Linked DNA regions of Homo sapiens: regions 2 and 3 are each linked to region 1. Evidence: promoter capture Hi-C in human tissues and cell types (Jung and others, 2019). All regions are on one chromosome and are shown on one strand. The core of a region is centred on a gene start or on the middle of the fragment in contact, and the rest is flanking DNA. Distances in the headings are between cores, read along the strand shown. Region 1 holds the start of ROR1 (receptor tyrosine kinase like orphan receptor 1). Region 2 overlaps ROR1 (receptor tyrosine kinase like orphan receptor 1). Region 3 overlaps ROR1 (receptor tyrosine kinase like orphan receptor 1).

What was found. The method cuts DNA at HindIII sites, captures the fragments that hold promoters and counts their contacts. A contact is called where the count stands out against the background at its distance.
Region 2: a fragment that was not itself captured here is called in contact with the fragment with the promoter of ROR1 in region 1 in 5 of the 25 tissues and cell types used here (aorta, heart right ventricle, liver and 2 more).
Region 3: a fragment that was not itself captured here is called in contact with the fragment with the promoter of ROR1 in region 1 in 3 of the 25 tissues and cell types used here (aorta, heart right ventricle and mesenchymal stem cells).

The regions. Positions count from the first base shown.
Region 1 is chr1:63,772,603-63,775,367 of GRCh38, forward strand. ROR1 (receptor tyrosine kinase like orphan receptor 1) reads left to right here and starts at 1,415. Exons shown (of 9, transcript NM_005012.4): 1 at 1,415-1,906. The coding sequence starts at 1,816. RefSeq lists silencers at 1,482-1,531, 2,316-2,610 and an enhancer at 2,476-2,765. The HindIII fragment of the contact is 10,974 bases long and covers 1-2,765 here.
Region 2 is chr1:64,038,886-64,041,871 of GRCh38, forward strand. The region is part of intron 2 of ROR1 (receptor tyrosine kinase like orphan receptor 1); the gene reads left to right. Among named protein-coding and RNA genes, the nearest start is that of ROR1-AS1, 72 kb to the right of the region's middle. The HindIII fragment of the contact is 6,256 bases long and covers 1-2,986 here.
Region 3 is chr1:64,056,427-64,059,140 of GRCh38, forward strand. The region is part of intron 4 of ROR1 (receptor tyrosine kinase like orphan receptor 1); the gene reads left to right. Among named protein-coding and RNA genes, the nearest start is that of ROR1-AS1, 54 kb to the right of the region's middle. The HindIII fragment of the contact is 4,077 bases long and covers 1-2,714 here.

The DNA of each region.
Region 1 (2,765 bases), core at 165-2,664:
TGACCTAACCTTTGTTCATTAATTGAGCTCCTATTGCATTCCAGGTACTGTTAGAGGCCAGCAAGATACCTAGATGATTGAGACAGAGTCCTCGCCCTCCATGAAGTGACTGTTCATTTTAAAACCCTAAAGCTGGGTTCTTAGAGGCTACTGCAACAGCAACAACTCCCGAGTGAGTGCTTATCATGTGCCAGGCTCTGGTTACAGGCTTTAACTCTCTCAGTGGAAACAGCCTGAGTGCTGGCTTGGCTACCCCATGTCTGTGAGACTGTGGGCAAGTCATTTACTTTCCCTTTGAGTTTCAATTTCTAAAACTGTAATATGGGGATAATATATGTAAAACAGCTAAGAAGTATATACTTTTAATGACTCTTTTTAGTGTCAATGGAGGATTTGTGAGCAAATGCATATAAAACACAAGGCAAACAGGAGGTATTTAGTAAGTGGCCACGTGATTATTGAGAGACTATGGGCTTCTTCCTGTTCCTCCAGAGCAAGACTGACAGGTGTCCTATTACCCTTGCATCTTCAGAGCCTAGAGCACAGCCCTGAAAACAGCAGGCGCTCACCACTTTTTATGATCAAAGGCAGTCTCTACAGGGAAAGTCAAATCATTATGGGTATTTATGAATTACAAAATCCATAAAGTTAAACCAGGAGAAATGGACAAAAACACACTCATTGTAGAGGTCTTTAATGATCCCTTGGCTCATGGCAGAGCAGCTAGACAAAAAACAAACAAACAAACAAACATGCAAAGATTCAGAAGGCCTGAAAAAATAATGAATACAAAGAAGATAAATCGATACAGTATTCTATCTTCACATTCGGAAGACAAAAACACCTTTCAAAAAACCATGGGACATTGGCAAAAATAACCACAGATAATCCTCAATAAATCTTGCCAGGAGGCAGTACAGATGACATTGAATTCAGTGAGACTACAAATTAAAGACAAAAAGGCGAAGTATAAATTACTTGTGTAAGAACTCTCTCAACTCTTGGGTCCAAGAAGAAAGCAAAAGGGAAATTGTATGATAGCAATAAATGTGCCATTACCCAGAGTCACACAGCTAACAGTGACACAGCTGAGGCTGCTAGAACCTGGGTCTACTGTCGTCCAGCCACGAACTGGCTTGAGATCCCGGATAAGTCTCTCTGAGCCTCGGTTTCCCCTTCTGTCAAGTAGCCTCGAAGGTCCCCGGCGCTCGGTTCGGTGGCGAGTTTGAGGAGTGTGGGGGAGGGGAGGGGAGGGAGCGTGCCCGAGACGCGGGAGCCGCGACCGCTTTCTGCGAAGTCGGGGAGGGTGCGGGCGTTGAGAGGCTGCAGCAGAGGGCGCTGGGTCGCCAGCCTGGGCCGCGTCTCCCATTGGTCGGGGCTGGGGCGCTGGGCTGGAGAGTTGGTGGAAAGTGACAAGTTGAGCGAGAGAGGGAGCGTGGAGAGCTGGAGCAGCCGCCACCGCCGCCGCCGAGGGAGCCCCGGGACGGCAGCCCCTGGGCGCAGGGTGCGCTGTTCTCGGAGTCCGACCCAGGGCGACTCACGCCCACTGGTGCGACCCGGACAGCCTGGGACTGACCCGCCGGCCCAGGCGAGGCTGCAGCCAGAGGGCTGGGAAGGGATCGCGCTCGCGGCATCCAGAGGCGGCCAGGCGGAGGCGAGGGAGCAGGTTAGAGGGACAAAGAGCTTTGCAGACGTCCCCGGCGTCCTGCGAGCGCCAGCGGCCGGGACGAGGCGGCCGGGAGCCCGGGAAGAGCCCGTGGATGTTCTGCGCGCGGCCTGGGAGCCGCCGCCGCCGCCGCCTCAGCGAGAGGAGGAATGCACCGGCCGCGCCGCCGCGGGACGCGCCCGCCGCTCCTGGCGCTGCTGGCCGCGCTGCTGCTGGCCGCACGCGGGGCTGCTGCCCAAGGTAAGAGGCGCCCGCCGGCCCCCGCCCGCCCAGACCCCCTGACCCGTGGCCACCCTTCCGCCGTCCAGCCGGGCGCGGGACACGCAGGAAGCGCCGCGCTGGCTCCGGGGCGCGTCCGGCCACCCGCCACGGGGCTCGCCGGCGCCGCCAGGCCAGGGTTTGCCCCGGAGCCCCGCCAGGCCAGGGTTTGCCCCGGAGCCCCGCGGCGGGCCGGGGCGCGCCCAGGGACTCGTTCCTCGGTGCGCAGCAGCGATTGTCAGCGCTGACAGGAAGCGTGGAGGGGTTTGAGGGTCCTGGGGGTGATCGGGGCACTTCTGTGCAGGGCGTCCCCCCTTGTCTCCCTGGACCTCTAGCGCGCCCCAGCCGGTGTTCAGGCAAGTCTATCCTGCCCCCAAGTTGCGAGCCGGCCCGGAAGGCGCGGTCCAGGAGGGAGTTTGGATTTTCAGTGGTGCTCGCCAGAGCCCAGGCGGCTCGCGGATCGACGCAAACAAAAGCCCTGTCCTCCTGGGGCTCCGGCGGCCTCGCATCGCCACCGCCCCCGGCCCTCCGGCCCTCCCGAGAGTCATCATAGAGGCCAAAACTTGTGCGCCGCTGCAGCCGCTGCCACTTTGTGCAAAATGTGCTGTCAGAGGCGGCCTGCGGCTCCAAAGTGCTTTGGGTGTGCACGCGCGCGCGCGCGCGTGTGTGTGTGCGTGTTACAAACAAGAGGGGGAAAAGCCATCTAATGCATATTTGATTTTGGTAATCTCTAAAGACAATCGCAACAGTTAGAGAAAGACTTCACCGCAAGCCGGAGCGTCTTAGTTCGCTGCGGGAAGCTGGGGTCCTTGCTGCGTCTGAGCCGGTACACAATGAGAGG
Region 2 (2,986 bases), core at 471-2,970, 270 kb after region 1:
ACGGCCTTGTGTGTTGAATTGATTTTTGTCTCTTGCTACAAAGAAAATAGTAGCTCCTTCAGTCTTCATCTCCAGATTTCTCAGTGCTTTTCTGTTTTCTTGAAAAGCAGTAGAGCAGATAATTTCTAATTGTTGAGGAATCTGGTTCAAAATTTCAAGGCAAAACCGCCCCATTCATGAGAGAGAACATTCAAGTGACAGGGCCTTCACCATTGCACTGCCCTGCTAACAGGAGACCTTGAGTTGTGGTCAAGTCAGCAGATTCTTTTAAATTTTGAAATACAGATCTTGCATAATGAATGGAGAAAGGGAGAAAGAATGGCTTGTGTGCCCTTTTGTGCTCCTTGAAGTTTACATTCTGGGAAAACATGAAACTGGAGTGTCAGCCTTGGTGGAACTGAGTTGGAATGCTGACTGGCACACAAAGGGATTCTGGTCCTGTTTAACCAAGATGTGACTTTAGAATACTGAGATTGTATGACTTTATGGATCCCCAGAGGAATAGAAATTCATGGGCCAGAATGACAAACTTTTATTTTGAAAGCCACCTAGGCTCCACTTAGAGCCATCAAATGCTTGAGAATTTATTATGACTGGGCAAGCCACTGCCTAAGAGTCAGGCCAGGGTAGTGAAAATACACACGGACTTTGTCTTTGAATGACCTGAATGTGGCCTAGTTCTTCCTAGCACAGGGCTCTCTACCAGAGCTGAAAGCACAACTGTTGCATTTGCATGACATAGAAGCAGCCAAAAGCTTCCACAGTGAGGATCATGTGTCGTGTTGATGCTGAGGCATCTCCTGTGCATGGTACTGAAATCACAGAGATGACTTATGATGTGTTCTGTTTGTGTTGGCCCAAAGCCCAAACCAGAAATGTATTTCAGGCTTGGCTTTCTAGATTCTATCTCCAGTCATGTAAAAGTTCATTACGTGGACCCACTCATCCTGTCCTGCTATAGTTAAGGTCTGTCAGCATTTTTCAAAGGTTTATAATTCAACCACAAAGGAGAATGCAGTCTTTAGGCTGCAATGTGACCTATAAAGCTTAAGCCCCGGGGTCAGAAACTTTGCTTTTTTGTTGTTGTTTTTAAGTTAGGCCCTTACTAAGTTATAGTGAAGCAAAGTAATAGCTGGTGGTTTTGTTATTATTATTTGGTTTGGTTTTACAGGGATGGGAAAAGCTTCAAGTGACTTCTTGGAATGTAGATGTACCCTAAACCTAAAGAGTTGTTAGGACTATAGATTTACTTATCATCCTAGCATTCAGCTAAAGATGGGGGTTTAGTTTTTAAAAATTTAGCATTTTAAAATTGGGATGGATGAGGCTGAGAAAGTTAGAAACAAGATTGGGAATATTTCACCAAAACTCAAGGACCAATTCTCAAGCCAGAAACTTTGTATTCAAAATTCTAGTTAAAAGACTTTGGTCATATTATATAAAAATCAAGTCATTTCCCTGATGGTTAAGTTTGTTTCTGCTCATAAATTCTAAGTATTCCCACTTAGAAATTTAAGTGAAAAGTGCACATATGATAAATATAAAGTAACAAAATGATACCTTCTCATAATAAAAACACTTGAAAATTTGAGGTAAAATAGATACAAAAATACACTTTCTATGTCTGTTCAGCTGCTATAATAAACTACCATAGACTGGGTGGCTTATAAAACAACAGAAACTTATTTCTTACAGTTCTGGAGGCTGGAAGTTCAAGATCAGGACACCAGCATGGTCAGGTTCTCCCTGTTGAGGGCTCATTTCCTGGTTCACAGACAGCTGTCTTCTCATTGTGTCCTCACATGGTAGGAGAGGCAGGGGATGTCCCTGGGGTCTATTTTATAAGGGGACTAATCCCATTCGTGAAGGTACCATCCTCATGACCTAATCACTTCCCAAGGCCCCACCTCTTCACCCTGAGCATTCAACATATACATTTTAGGGGGCCACAAACATTCAGACCATATATCCACAAAAGCTTATAATCAGCAAAAGGTCTCTTAGAGTAACCTAATTTGTGGTTACTAAGGATCCCATTAAATAACCTGCTCCTGGGGTAAAAATAAAGACTGGTAAAAATCATAGCACCTTTGGTGTGGGAAGGAGGTTTTATCTGGATGGTCTCAAGTCAATTAATAGTGGGAAAAGTTCTTAATGACAGTATGTTATAAAATGCAGATTGGCAGTAGGGACAGGAGAAGAGTGTCAATGGAACTGAGTTCCAGTCCAACCTGTGTACAGTCTAGCTATGCTAAGACCTCTATAAACCTTGGTATCTTCCTTAAAATGGGGCTGGAAAATCCTATGTATATATACAGGGTTCTGGTGATGACAAAATGCAATAATACATGTAAAATGCCTGATAGAATCAGTGCCTAATATATGTTTTTCCCTTCTTCTCCCACCTTTATTAATTATACCTGAGACATAAAACAATCTAAATGCTGGAGACCAGCCACTCTAATTTGGTAGAGATCTTTTCTTAAAAGGAAAAAGTAGTTTCCCTGAGCTTTTAAGAGTGCATTTACATACAATTTGTCTATTTGTAAAAAAGACCTATTCATTAAAATAAGCCTCTAAGTAGCAAAGTGCAAGTTTTCTTAAACTCCTTTGAGTGGCACCACATGCTAACTGGGCTTCCTAAGGAAAGAACTATAAAGGTGGCTGTCTTTCCCCATTAACCCTGATTTATAGGGGGTTTTGCTCTAAGTGCATATTTGCAGAACCATTCTTAATGTGTGTGTGTTCTCTCCCCAAAAAGGAGGCACATTATTGGCCATTTGTTGTCTTTGGTCCAGTGGATACTCTTTAAACCCACTCTTACTACTCTGTAGTCAATAGCCCAAGCTCAGCTTGATGCATTAGTCCTTGTGTTTTCAAGAAAATGTGTTCGGCCAGCACCCAGCCCAGCACAGCACTTCTTTTCTTTTCACTTTTAACCATCATATCCCCTGGTTTCCAGCAGGTTCATTCACCCAGAAAATGT
Region 3 (2,714 bases), core at 211-2,710, 280 kb after region 1:
CACTTTGGGAGGCCAAGGCGGGTGGATCACCTGAGATCTGGAGTTTGAGACCAGCCTGGCCAACATGGTGAAACCCCGTATCTACTAAAAATACAAAAAATTAGCCAGGTGTGGTGGCGAGCATCTGTAATCCCAGCTACTCGAGAGGCTGAGGCAGGAGAATCACTTGAACCCAGGAGGCAGAGGTTGCAATGAGCTGAGATCATGCCATTGCAGTCCAGCCTGGCCAGCAGAGCAAGACTCTATCTCCAAAAAAAAAAAAAACAAACATTATTATAGCCATCCTCGTGAGTGTGAAATGGTATCTCATTGTGGTTTTGATTTGCATTTTCCTAATGACTCATGATGTTGAGCATCTTTTCATGTGCATATTGGCCATTTATGTTTTCTTTGGGGAAATGTTTGTTCAAACTTTTTACCCATTTTTTAAATTGAATTAATTGTCTTTTTATTCTTGAGGTGTAAGAGTTACTTATTTTGGGTATATACCCTTATTAGATATATGATTTGCAAATATTTTCATTCTATGGATTGTCTTTTCATTTTCTTGATAGTGTTCTTTGAAACACAAAAGTTTTTCATTTTGATGACATTCAATTTATTACCCATTCTTTGGTTGGTTGTGATTTTGAAAACCATCGCCTGATGCAAGCGTACAAAGATTTACTCCTCTGTTTTTTTCCTAAAAGTTTTTATTTACAGTTTTAGCTCTTACATTTAGGTTTTTGGTCCATCTTGAATTAATTTTTGTATACAGTGTGTGAGGTGGGAGTCCAGGTTCATTCTTTTGCATGTGGATATCCTGTTGTTCCAATATCATTTGATGAAAAGACCATTCTTTACCCATTGAATTGTCTTGGCACTCTGTTAAACCAATTAAACATGTGTCTATGTGTCTATCCCTATTCAGTTCTACATAGTCTTGATTACTATAGGTTTGTAGTAAGTTTTGAAATCAGGAAATATGAGTACTCTGTATTAGTATTCCACTGGAGAAACAAAACCAGTAAAATTGTGTATGTATACATATATAAAGAGATATATTACAAAGAATTTGCTAAAATCCTTAGGGCAGGGAGCCAGGAGGCACAGGCTGGGAACTTTTGGGCAGTTGCTCATGCCATAGTCCACAGGTAGAATTTCTTCTTCCTCAGAGATACCTCTTAAGGCCTTTCATCTGATTGGATCAGGCCCACCCAAACTATTGAGGATGACCTCCTACAACCAGTCAGTTGATTGTAGATGTTAATAAAATTTATAAAGTACTTTCACAGCAACACCTAGACTAGTGTTTGAATAACTCAGGACTGTACCTTGCCAGTTGATATGTAAAACTAGTCATCACCTCTTTCTATATTGTTCTTTTTCAAGACTTTTGTTGTTGTTGTTATTCTGAGTGCTTTGCATTTCCATATGAATTTTAGGGTCAGCTTATTAATTTATGCCACCAAAAAGTCAGCTGGAATATTGATAAGGATGGCATTAAATCTGTAGATTAATTTGGGGAGTACTGCTGTCTCAACAGTATTAAGTCATCTAATCCATGAACATGGGATGTCTTTCCATTTATTTAACTTCTCTAAATGATGTTTTGTAGATTTTGGTGTGCAAGTCTTGCTCTCTTTTCTTAAGTTTATTCTTAAGTATTTGATTATCTTTCATGCTATTGGAAATGGAATTTTTTCTTAATATCATCTCAGTTTATTCATTGCTACTACATAGAGATACAATTAATTTTTGTATATTGATCTTATATCCTATACCCTTGCTAACTTGCTTCTTAGCTCTAGCAGTTTTTTTGTGAATTCTTTAGGATTTTCTATCTACAAGCTTGTGTCATCTGCAAAAAGAGATTGTTTTACTTTTTTCTTTTCAATTTGGGTGCCATTTACTTATTTTTCTTGCTTTATTGCCCTGGCTAGAACCCTCAGTACAATGTTGAATAGAAGTGGTGAGAGTGGACATCCTGTTTTTTTTTTACCTTATCTTTAGTGAAAAGATTTCAGTCTTTCACCATTGAATATGATGTTAGCTGCGTTTTTCCATAGATGCCACTTATTAGATTGAGAAAATTCCCTATTATTCCTATTTTCTTCTATGTTTTTTACTATGAAAAGCTATTGGATTTTCTCAAGTGCTCTTTGTGTGTCCATTTAGATGATCGTGGTGGGTTTTTTTTTGTCCTTTATTATATTAATGTGATATATCACATTAATTGATTTTTGCATGTTAAACCAAGCTTGTATTAGAATAATTCCTACTTGGCCATGGTATATAATTTCTTCTTATCTTTTGCTGGATTCAGCTTGCTGGTATTTTGTTGAGGATTTTTGAGTCCATGTTTATAAAATATATTGGTCTGTGCTTTGCATTTCTTGTGATAGCTTTGTCTAGTTCTGATATAAGGGTAATATTGGCCTCAGAATATATTGGGAAGTATTCCTTTTTCTTCCATTTTTTAAGAAGAGTTTGTAAAGGATTTTTATTTAAATGTTTGGTATAATCACCAGAAAAGTAATCTGGGCCTGAATTTTCATCATGGGAAGTTTTAAAATTACTAATTCAACTTTCTTACTTGTTATAGGTCTATTTAAATTTTCTGTTTCTTCTTGAGTCAGTTTTGGTAGTTTATGTCTTTCTAGAAATTTTTCCATTTCATTGAGATTATCTAAGTTATTTTATTCCTTTATCATTCTTTTAATTTCTGTAACATC